Regions from separate parts of the Homo sapiens genome. Here region 1 is linked to region 2. The links are contacts of gene promoters, found by promoter capture Hi-C in blood cells and fetal thymus (Javierre and others, 2016). All regions are on one chromosome and are shown on one strand. Each heading gives the region's core, a stretch centred on a gene start or on the middle of the fragment in contact. The rest is flanking DNA. Distances are from core to core; before and after follow the strand shown. Region 1 overlaps EBNA1BP2 (EBNA1 binding protein 2). Region 2 holds the start of ZNF691 (zinc finger protein 691).

Evidence for each region. Contacts are between HindIII fragments. The CHiCAGO score rates a contact against its expected background, and 5 or more counts as called.
Region 1: a fragment that was not itself captured here is called in contact with the fragment with the promoter of ZNF691 in region 2 in 1 of 17 cell types (total CD8 T cells); the score reaches 5.9 in total CD8 T cells.

The regions. Positions count from the first base shown.
Region 1 is chr1:43,162,640-43,168,796 of GRCh38, reverse strand. EBNA1BP2 (EBNA1 binding protein 2) reads left to right here. Exons shown (of 9, transcript NM_006824.3): 6 at 1,562-1,637; 7 at 1,878-1,971; 8 at 3,992-4,154; 9 at 4,304-4,613. The coding sequence ends at 4,354. Among named protein-coding and RNA genes, the nearest start is that of MIR6733, 6.0 kb to the left of the region's middle. The HindIII fragment of the contact is 3,482 bases long and covers 234-3,715 here.
Region 2 is chr1:42,844,720-42,850,854 of GRCh38, reverse strand. It overlaps ZNF691 (zinc finger protein 691), which reads right to left and starts at 4,242. Exons shown (of 4, transcript NM_001242739.2): 1 at 4,198-4,242; 2 at 1,442-1,564; 3 at 1,113-1,290. The coding sequence starts at 1,196. It overlaps ZNF691-DT (ZNF691 divergent transcript), which reads left to right and starts at 4,441. Exons shown (of 5, transcript NR_186083.1): 1 at 4,441-4,598. It overlaps ERMAP (erythroblast membrane associated protein (Scianna blood group)), which reads right to left. Exons shown (of 12, transcript NM_001017922.2): 12 at 5,864-6,135. RefSeq lists enhancers at 4,206-4,275, 4,436-4,705. The HindIII fragment of the contact is 2,673 bases long and covers 1,713-4,385 here.

The DNA of each region.
Region 1 (6,157 bases), core at 725-3,224, 320 kb before region 2:
CATGAGCACAATCTTGCCTGGACATGAGTGGTTCCCCAGGAGTAGTATGGTGACTGCAGGTGAGCCAATCACCTCTCTGGGCGTTAGTTTTCACATCTGTACACTGGGTCCAGATGAGTGGTTTCCAAACCTGACCTTATAGCAAAATCACCAGGGGAAATTTTTCAAAACAGAATTCTAGACTTCAGAATCCCCAGGAATCTGTGCCTGTTTTCCCCTCTTCCCCAAAAGCTTTCCAGGTGATTCTGAAATGCATCCTGGTTTGGGATTCACTGATCTATGTGATAATCACGTACCTGAAGAAATTATCATAATGATTGTCATCCAATCTGAAAGATTGCCTGCGTGTTTGAACTATGAATGTCTGAGTTCTAATGTAACACCAGATCAGGCATACCCTAAAACTTTTCTTGGTTTTCCTTTTTTATTTCATGGTCATCTAAGAAAGAAGATGACAGATTTTAAAGTTAGGATTGTGGGAAGAAATGAATGTGAGGAAGATTGGTGTGGGTGTTAAGACTTCGTCAACATTTGGACATAAGCACTTGTGATCTGGGCTGCAGAACTCTTGTCCACGTTTGGAGTCATTTCACTGATACATTCTCAGCAAAGTAGGAATAGGCTGGGATCCTGTCCTCTACAAAAGGCCTGCTGCGGATTTATTATTTCTTTGATCTGGAGGTGGATGGCTGAGATTCTCTCAAAGACACCAGTAATTAATTTAACATAGCCAAAGTTACCAAAAGCAAAGACAAACTCACTTGGGCCTATTAGTTCACTGTTCCTAATTTAAGGAAACACTGGGGAAGAGTTTGTTAACTGGGGGTGAATTTGCTCCCCAAGAGTTTTCTGTGACTGCCTGGAGATATTTTTAGTTGTCAAATTTGGGAGGGAGGGTACTACTGGCATCTAGTAGGTAGAGGGCAGGGGTGCCGCTAAATATCCTACAGTGTAGGACAGGCCCCTACCCCCCAGCAAAGAATTATTCTCTCCACACTGTAGCAGTATCAAGATTGAGAAACCCTCTGTTAGAGTATTATAAAGTGTCTCCTTTTATCCTTCAAACTTTTTTCTTTTCTTTACCTGGGGACATTGTTTTTTTCTCTTCCTTTTGGTACTTTCATGCCTAGTAACAGTGAGTTAGATAATTAATCTGTCCAAATGTGATGCGAAAAATCGATGTAGTCTTAAACATGATTTACTTCAGTTTTGTAGGCAGGATTGTATAATAGGGTGAGTGCTGGCTTTGGAGTCAAACAGCCTGGGTCATCTTGGCTGTGCATTTTTTCACTGTGCGACTTGGGCAAGTTAACTTCCCTGTGCTTCAGTTTAGGGGATAACACAAATTTCAACTTCACTGGATTGTTATGAGACAGATATATCTTCATCTATGAAGAATATACCTAGATCTGAGAATATACTTAGAGTCCCTAACACAGTTTTTGGCACGTAGTAAATGTCAGAGGGTAGTGGTATTAATCATGGTGTTGCTATTAAGACAATGTAGACACTGGAGTAATGGTATGGAATGGCTGTAACGGTCCTTGTGTTCATATCACAGGTGCAAACGGAGGTTCTTCAGAAGAGGCAGCAGGAGAAAGCCCATATGATGAATGCTATTAAGAAATATCAGAAAGGTTGGTACATCTCTAATAGGGGAACGAGGGTAGCAGGTACTTTAGAGTTGATTTGAACACTTAGTGCTTTGGAGCCTTCTTGGTTGATGTGGACCTGTCGGATCAAAGTTTTGGGAATGGTGTTGGAGAGCAGGATGTGACTCTTAAAATCAGTGTAGCAAATAACAGCCTCATATGGTGGTTTAAACTTTTATTCTTAAAATACAATGGTGCTGATCAAAACTACTTCTTCACTTACAGGCTTCTCTGATAAACTGGATTTCCTTGAGGGAGATCAGAAACCTCTGGCACAGCGCAAGAAGGCAGGAGCCAAAGGCCAGCAGATGAGGAAGGGGTGAGAAGGGTTTTGGCATGGTTTCTTTGGTTCTGTGAGGTGCGATGGGGCCACAGGTCACGAGTATGGCAGACATAGCACCTCCACCGGCGCAGCCATAGAGTCCAGAGAGTGCAGCTGCTGCCTGGGGCCAGGACCCCTATGACTGTGTGATGGGCCCTTTTAGCCATGTCAGTCTTTGAAGAGTAAAAGAAGGCACTTTTTAAACTTCTTTTTTTTTTGGACAGTCTCATTCTGTCACTCAGGCTACAGTGCACTGGTACAGTCTTGGCTCACTGCAACCTCTGCCACCTGGGCTCAAGTAATTCTGTGCCTCAGCCTCCTGAGTAGCTGGAACTACAGGTGCCTGCCATCACACCCAGCTAATTTTTGTATTTGTAGTAGAGACAGGGTTTCACCATGTTGGCCAGGCTGGTTGTGAACTCCTGGCCTCAAGTGATTCACTCACCTCAGCCTCCCAAAGTGCTGGGATTATAGGTGTGAACCACTGCACCCATCCTAAGAAGGTACTTTTAAGTATGTGGCACCCTTTAAGTGAATGCTGAGTAAAGTTGATTCCCCATCACACAGTGCGATGGTTGAGAGTTCAGACCTAGGGTTCAGATCCCGACTCTACCACTCAGTAGGAGGGCAGTTTTGAACGAGTTACCATGCCTTTCTAAATGCTAATTGCCTCATCTGCTAAGTTGAGGAAATAGTGTCTGCCTCATAGTATGAAGACTGAAAGAGAGAATGTGGGCTCTCATTGTTTTTTCTAGTCTGCTTTTTTGCATACCTGGATACCAGGCCTAGGGGAAATGATAATTTCCATGTAAGATAGTAAGTGCTATGATAGAGGCATTTGGGGATTAGTACTGAGTCAGCTTTTATAAATACCTGACAGGGTCTGGGGTGGATTTCTGGAGGAGCGTTCGACTTGAGCATTGCTTGAAGCATGAGTAGGAATTAACCACGAGAATAGAAGAGAAGCTGGGTTTGGGAAGAAGTAAGAGCTTGAACGAGCAAAGCCATCGAGATGTGAAACCTCAGGGTTTTGTGAGGAACAGTAAGCCCTTGGTGTCACTGGGAATACAGTGCAAAGCAAGGAGGGGTGCAATGTGTTTGGGGGGACCTGGGCTGTGGGTTTGCCTTGTTGAGGAGCTTGGGCTTTGTCAGAAGGCAGTGGAGAGACTAGGTTGTAGGTTGTACTAACAGTAATGAGCAGGTTATATTCATGTTTTTAAAAAGATCACAGTGGATTTTGTATAAGTGACAGACTTGAGGGAAGCTGGGAAATTGACAAGGGTACTATTGCAAAAGTCGAGATAAGGATTGAAGAAACATTTAAGAGGTGAAATGAGCAGGACTCAGTAATTGAATTGGGTATAAAGAGTGAGAGAAGAACCAAGGCTGACTCCCACATGTTTAGCCTGTGTGTCTGGGTTGGTGGGAGCAGCGCCAGCCTCAAGTGAGGGCATATGTACAGGAAGCAGAGCCAGTCCAGGAGATGATGTGAATTTGGAGATGCTGAATTCAAGATTCCTATTGGATGACCAGTTTTACATTTGAATGTTATTCCATTTGAATGTTATTTGAATGCCTATAATTACATTTGAATGTTTACATTTGAACGTATTCATTACATTACATTTGAATGTTACAAATGTAACATATTACATTTGGATGTTAACTGCATGTATTTACCCTTGAGAGGAATAGACACAACTGAGGGTGATTTAATAAGATTTGGTTAAAATAGAAAGCTTTCTAAAGACAGCAGGAAGCCATGTAATATATGTAGAGCCTTCCCTGCTTCTTGCTTTATTTTCCTGCCCTGGTGGTCAAAACTGTAAATAGGTGAGCTAGATGAGTTTGTCTAGAGAGGCTGTAGCATAGGATTGTGGGGCCAAGGATGAGATTCTGGGTTACAGACGTGCCTAAGGGGCTTTGCTTATAGAAAGGAAACTGAGAGCATTGCTGGGCCATCAGGTTCATCAGGCTTTACAGTGCTGTAGTGATGTCTAGGACCATTCTTTTCCAGGCCCAGTGCTAAACGACGGTATAAAAACCAGAAGTTTGGTTTTGGTGGAAAGAAGAAAGGCTCAAAGTGGAACACTCGGGAGAGCTATGATGATGTATCTAGCTTCCGGGCCAAGACAGCTCATGGCAGAGGCCTCAAGAGGCCTGGCAAGAAAGGGTCAAATGTAAGTGAGCCCAGGTGCCCGGGTGAGGAGCAGGCTCAGCCTCCCCTCCCACTCCCAACCCTGCCCTCTCCCTTCAGTTCTGTTCGTCCTCACCCTGGGGCAGAAGGCAAGCTGCTATGTGACCAGATGTGGTATGTCTTTTTCTGTAGAAGAGACCTGGAAAACGAACAAGAGAGAAGATGAAGAACAGAACACACTAAATAGCATCTTTGAATACAAAGAACCAAGAAAAAGGAATGAAGACTCGCAATTTCACGACACACTTTGATCCCTTCTGTTGGTGTCATGTTGTAAACATTTCTTTCAATAAACTAAAGAAAAATTATTAAAGGAACACATACCTTTGGTTAAATAGTCTAGACTAAAAGATTGAGAAGTTACTTTCCATTGCTATCTATTGATAATTTAGACATTGAGTTCAAATTGCCTTCATTTTATGATAAATAATGATTTAACTGACACCTTCTCATTTCCTTTGTCTCATCCTTCTAAATAGTTATATTACGATCAATCCCTGTAAAGCTCAATGCCCATATTTTACAGGTGTGAGCCACCGTGATTTTCTTTGTGGTACAGCTTTTGGTTTTTCCTCCAGTTAACCTTCACCTTACATTCTTCTGCTTGCCTAATTTTCCTTCTATATTCTTAGTTCTTTCCAGATGCTTTGTCATTTTACCCACTTTATAATTTTTCTCCTACAACCTAGTTATGCCACACAACTGTCACCTTTTTTCTAGACCGTTTAAGTTGGCACCATTATTTCCAGAATCCCATGTTTTCCCATCTTAGCATATGCCTTCTTTTGCTGTGTACCATTTTTTGGTATCTTACTAAGAAAGGGAAGATGAGAGGTAAACTTTTTATCTCCTTGCATTTCTGAAATTGCCTTTAATTTGGGCTGATAGGAATTTCCTCCTTAGAATTTTAGAATTTCGCAGGCACTGTTTTTAAGTTTTATTTCAGTTCTACTTTTGGGGGGAGATATATTTTTGTTTTTTAAAATCTTTTTTTTTTTTTTTTTTTTTTTTTGAGACACAGTCTCACTCCATCGCCCAGGCTGGAGTGCAGTGATACAATCTTGGCTCACTGCAACCTCCACTTCCCAGGTTCAAGTGATTCTGCCTAAGCCTCCTGAGTAGCTGGGATTACAGGCGTGCGCCACCACACCCAGCTAATTTTTGTATTTTTAGTAGAGACAGGGTTTCACCACGTTGGCCAGGCTGGTCTCAAACTCCTGACATCAAGTGATCCACCTGCCTCTTCCTCCCAAAGTGCTGGGATTACAGGCGTGAGCCACCATGCCCGGCCTAAAATCATTTTATTGAATATGAAGTTTAGCTTTCATTTCATTTATCCCCCAAGAGTTTCTTATTCTCTATTTGGTCATTTTTCATATCATTTTACTCTTATCCTCTAGATGCAGTATCTTATATCTCTCAGAATATGATTATAGTTTTAATTTTTTTGATAAAGTTTCCCTCTGTTCCCTTCATTCTGTTTCTGCAGCCCATGCATTTTGATCTCCTCTTTCCCGTGTTTGAGCAGTAGAGTATTGTAGAAGCTAAGAAGCGTGGATTCTGGGGCCTGGCTGTGTTGCTTACTTGCTGTTTGACCGTAGGGAATTTAATTTTTATTTGCCTTGTCATCTCTAGCATAATGTAGATGTATCTACCTCATTGGGTTCCTGTCAGTATTCGGTTAATCAATGTAAAACACTTAGAACATTATCCTAATATAATCCGATAATCTGATAATCCTCTCATATTCCTTTGATTAGGATTGTTTTGCTGGGGTTTCTTTCCTTAATATCTGGCAAGCCTTGGTTGTTCATACATAAGCGGAAGCTCTGCGTAGGTGGTACATTGAGTAGGCAGGCCACATTAATTGTTGGGCTTTACTCTGTGTTGATAGGGTGGTAAACCATTTTACCTGCCCCTTCTCTCTCCATTCCAGTTTAGAAATCATACTTTATTTTTAAAGAAGTTAGAAATGCCTGAGAGCTA
Region 2 (6,135 bases), core at 2,993-5,492:
CATGGGACCATCCATTAGAAATAACCTCAATCAACTGGAATACTTGGATAGAATACCTTTACTTGCTACCTTTTAAGTGACAAACTTTCAGAGATATTTAAAGCTACCCACCAGAGCAAAAAGAAGGCACCGGCTTTGTCCACCACCACCAGATGATATTTGTGCCATTTGAATAATGTCACTCTTCTTGAAACCACTAAGCAATGACAATCCAGACTATAATTCATGGGCAAGTAAAAGAGCTTTCATTTTGGGATAAGTTCAATTTTTCTGCCTAACTGTAAGTTAACTGTAACTCTTTTTATGTTTAATCCTTTTTGAAAAACCTTCCTTACAAGTATCTACCTATATGCCTGCTTTCAAAATGAACAAAACAAAACCTCTAAATCTTGAGGCTTTCCTAGGTGACAAGGCCCAGCTTTGGCTTTTCTTGAGATTTCTGCCACTCTACCCCTCTCCAGCCCACACCAGAATCTAGCAAGTAAACATCTGGGTTAATACCTGGGACCTCCAGGACCTACTGTGGGGCCTGGGCTGTGTTTCTTCTGATCAGTCAGTGCCCTCCACTACATTCTCAAACACCATACAAAGCCCCACCCACACCCCCCGCCCACACACGCATGCATGCACACAAGCAAGCAGAATCACACAGACACAGTCACACCATACACAAAGCCATATTCTCACGTAACACGGTCATACTCACATACCTGACATACTCGGTCACATTCTCATACCACACACAACAGCTATACACCTACACACCACACACAGCCATACATTATCACACCACACACATACATACTACATACACACTCATACCACATATAGCCACATACCACAGCCACACACATATATAGCTACATACATGTCTATACACATATACCCATACACCACACACAGACACACACTCACATACCAAGTACACACAAAGATAAACACAGACACAGACACACAAACCACACTCCCCACACCCCACCCCAAAACTAAACACATAAGAGTGCCCAGTACAGGTCCTGATTTGTGCAAACATCACTAATGTGTGCTAAGCTGCACAGACTCCTTTGGGTTCCTACAGCCAAGGACAGGGAAAGAGTTGGGGGGAAAAGTACCTCTGATGAGAGTGGTAGCATTTCCTCCGGGCCTTGAAGAAATAACGACATTTCAGCAGAGTGGGTTGGTGAACAGAGTGACATGAACAAAGGGATGAGGGAGGGAAGCACAAACTATCATAGGACACTGATGATAGAAAATGAAAGACTGATAATTCCTTCAAGTCTGCAAGTATTTCTGGAAAAAAGAAACACAGAATAAAGAAAGGGGTACTGACTACATTTAGGGTTGGATTACAACTGTGACACATACTATCTTTATCGCTCTCTGCAAATTATTCAACCACTCTGAGCCTAAACTCCCTCTTCACTAAAATTGTGATACCTACCCACACTACAAGACTTTGTATTAGAAAAAAATGCCTGTAATACTCAGCAGAGTGTGTGACACATGCTGTCATTCAGCAAATGGCAGCTGCTGTTACAACTGTTGAAGACACTACGTCCAGGCCCTGTGAAGAATACAAGAAAAAGATCTTTTAAATGATCTCATTAAGAAAAAACTTTTAACTTAAAAATAGCATAAAACTGTATATAACCTTCTAAAATGTGAAATACAGACAGAACCTCAACTCTTTAAGAACCAGAGGTTGACAAGCTTTTTCTGTAAAGGGCCAGATAATATTTAGTAAATATTTATGGCCATGGGATATCTGCTGTAACTATTCAATTCTGCCACTGTATCATGAATCATGAAAGCAGCCATAGACAAGACATAAAGGAATGTGTGGCTGTGCTCTAATAAAACTTTATTTAAAGCAACAGGAGGTGAGCTGTGGTTTGCCAATCCCTGTTAGTGTTCCTTGAAGAATTTAGATAAGAATATGAAAAATAATTGGTTTGCTTTACTTCCAAAAATGCAAGTAAACATGAGAAACTATTCCTTGATACTTAGACACTGTTTCCTGACCATCCTTTAAAAAATTAAAATCACTCCCACACTCCCAGTCCTCCTGCCCCATAGCACATCTTACCTTCTGACATTCTCTTTATGTCTATTATTTATTGTCTGCTTCCCTAAAACATAAGTTCCATGAGAGCTGGTGTCTTTGTTGTTTTTTTGTTTTTTTTTTAATTTACCAATGTAACCAAAACTCCTAGAGTAGTGGCAGCCATATACAGTAGATCCTTCATAAGTATTTGTTGAATGAGTTGAATAAAACACCAGCTCTGTCTTCATGGGACACAAGTAACCATGAACTGTCTCACCCACTTTTCCTCAGCAATCTCCTGATTCCTGCCTACTTTCTCCTTTATGCAGTCACAGAATCTTGTGCTTGGCTTATAGTGGTTTGCAACTACTAGTAGAACATGTCTGTTTCTATTAGTAGTTTATAAGCAACTTGAGGAAAGGGACTGGGTCATATTAGTAATCTCCTTCTGCAGCATAAAGCTGGGTGCTCAAATGTCTTTTGAATGTATAAGTGACAGGATGTGATCTTAATTCACGCCACCATCCCATCCCCCACCCCCTGCCCTGCTCCCATCTGACCTACAGCTACAGTATCTCTACGCAATGAGCTATTCAGCCTCCACTCACTTCCGAAACTGCTATTCTGAGAACCTATAATTTACCAAGTTCCAGCTCTACCCGGGGCTGGATGCTAGGTCAATGTAAGAGCAAAAGGATTTAGGATTATGATTACCACTCAGTTTGTGATACAGTGTACTGAAACAGACCGTGAACTCCAGAAATTGTCATACAATGCAGAAGGTTAAGTTCAGGGGACAGGGGCAGGAACTGTGCCTTAGTCACCTTTGTACCCACTCCTCAGTGTCTAACACAGCACCTGGCACATTATTAACATTTTTTTAAAGCTCGAATCAAGTGCTAAGCTGTGGACTAAGGACCATATATGAATCATCTAATTTCACTTCACATCATCCTTATTTTAGAGATGAGAAAGCTGAGGCTCAGAGAAATTAAGTATCTTGCCCAAGGGCACACAGCAAGTAAGTGGCAGAACTGGGGCCTATGCCCATCACTTCAAAGTCAGTGCTTTTAACCATTATACTATTACTGAAGGAAAAAAGGAGAGAAGACGGGAAGGAAGGAAATAAAAACAGTACCACTGAAGTTCACATGATACAGATGTATCTCCCTGATGAAATCAGGGCTGAGAAGTTTCAAGGAGGAGTAGGTATTTGACCTAAGGTTTGCAGGATGGGTAAGACTGGGACTTGCAGAGATAAAGAGGCAACTACCTACTGAGAAGACAGTGCAGCTGAAGTACAGAGGCACTTTCATATCACACTGCAGAGATCTGGGGGGAAAAGGGGTCTATTGGGCTTTGTCTTCCTGGTGGCTCAGCTGCACAGAGAGAAGCAACGGTGGAAGGGGCTGAGAAGTGGAGGAGGGGCCAGGTCTAAGAAGTTAAGAGCCAAGAAGATGGGGCTAGTGATCACAGATGATGAAGGTGAAGCGCCTAGGTTAAAGGCAAGGGGCCAAGCCATAGTGCGGTATGGAGGTCCGAAGTTACAGGTCTTTGGGGCCAAGTCAAGGGCTGCAGGGAGGAAGAGGAGAGAGGAGCTATGAAAGACCAAGAGCAAGGTGCTAACAGGGTAATTGTACAGGGAAGCTAGATAACGGGTCAGAGATACAGGAGGACCAAGGAAGTCAGAGGGTCGCAGGAGACGGTCAGGGAAGAGGAAGCAAAGGCTGCCAGAAGTGTCACAGGCCAGGGCCCAAGAGCTGAGTTGTGTGTTGCGGGGCGGGGAGAAGCCAATGGCGGAGGTCCAAGGGTACAAGAGCTGGTTTCAGAGATTGCCGGCGGGCTTGGGGCCAGAGAGGTGGGAGAGGAGGAGGGGCTGATCCTAAACGTATGGTCAGCGGCAGGAAGGCTGTATACTCAAACCCAACAGAAGGGCCGGGGAATGGGTTGGGGACAGCCACCTGGCTGCGTGGGCCGGGGGCCAGGGCGAGGGTCGCGGCGGAGGGACCACAAGGCCCCTTGGCTTCCCACTCGGTCCAGGGAGCAAAGCAGCAGCATCCAGATCCTCGGTGAGAGGGAAGTGGCCGTGTACAGAGTTTCCCGCGAAGTCGTGTCCGCCTCCCCCCGCGACCTCGGGCCCAACCCGGACCCACCTCGCTCCCGCCGCTCGATCAGGGACAGCGCCGCCTCTGTAGGCGAGGGAAGGAGCTGGAGCCGGAGCCGGAACCCAGGAAGGATCCGCCCTACTACTCCAGGATTGGTTTCTTGGGATAATTCTTTATTTCCATTGGCTACCATGACTGCCACAACGCAAGCGACCTGGCAGGACCACCAATAAGCTTTGACCGCTGGCGTGGCATGCTGGGAGTTGTAGTCCTAAGGAAGCGCGTAGACTCAGAGAAAACTTGCGAAGTTTAGGATGGAGCTGAAGAGACTGGGTTCCGTCCTACGGTGGGATTTCTTTCCGTGCTCGCGCGTTCAGCCCCAAGTCTCAGGGCCACTCGTCTGGGAAGTTGTAGAATCTGTATAGCCAACCTACACAACCTCCAAGGGGGCAAGTACTCAAATTTCCTTCTTTACTTTGAGTTGGTAATCCTTGACCGTCCTGTAGACGTCCAACGAAGCCTAGAGTCTGGCACCTCACTCAAGGTTTATAACTTAAAATCAAAGGAGGGTAGAGCTGGAAGGGAGTTTAAAGATAAAATAACCCAATCTCCTTATCGGAGAAGCTAAAAGTACCCTGTTCAAGGATCAACCTCCAGGTCTTCCAGCCCCCCTGAGCAGGGATTTTCCCGGGTTCCGCGTGCATCCCTAATTAAGCCTGACACGTGTTCGTCAATCCAGACACAACAAGATCACCAAAGTATCCAGGACTAGGTCTTTTTTTTCAGGTTTTATTTTTTAAAATAATAAAAGGCTAATGAAATACGTAAACTACAGGCTTCTCGTATCTGCACAATGTTTCAGTGCAAAGAACAAGGAGCATTGCCTTCAGAGCTAGATAAACCAAGTATAAAACTCTGGCTCTACCACCTAGCCATTTGGAGTACCAACTCCCTCCCCCATAAAATCCCTGGCAGAATTACTGTGAGGATATTATATATACATACATATATTCTCATGCATGTGTATGTGTATACATATATACATATATATGTATGTATGTTTTATATAGTTGTAAGGTTATAATACATACATATATTGAGGTTATTTCTTGATGACATTAATATTCAAATCAGTAGACTGATATGTATGTACATATATACATGTATAATACACATACATGTGTATATACATATACTAATGTATACATGTGTATATACATGCATACATGTGTGAATATGTATTATACATACATATGTATATATGTGTATACATATACACGTGCATACATGCTAAATACATATACATATATATACACCTATGTAGTACAGATATGTATATACACATACATGTATACATGTGTATATGTGTATGTATGCATATGTGTGTGTATATTATATGTATATTCATGTATGTATGTGTATATGTATGCATGTATTCTGCCTCCACAAGCTGACAATGTGAGTTAGTTTTAAGATTGGGATATTCAGGAATGCATGTTTGGAACTGAATATGGTTGAGTGAAATATGTGTGCCTTATGAACACTATTTGTTTATAAATTGATAAAATAAAATACTAGAGAGCAGACTCAGGAATAAAACTATGGCTTTAGTATGAACGGTGGCTAAACCTTGCCTTGGGGGACTCAAAGCTCTTTGGAAACCAATCTCTTACCTTCCCCACAACTCCTCATTCACAATGAAAATAACAGCATACCAAAACACAAATACCAAACTTTTATTTTAAAACTGTACAAAAGCAAACAAAAAATTCCACTGAGTCACTGTGATAGTTAATCTTATGTATCCACTTAACTGGGTCACAAGATGCCCAGCTATTTGGTCAAACATTATTCTGAGTGTTCCTGTGAGGGTGTTTCTCAATGACATTAACATTCAAATCAGTAGACTGAGTAATGCAGACTGTCCTCCCAAATGTGGGCGGGCCTTGCTGAATCAGTTGAAGGCCTGAATAGAACAAAAGAGCT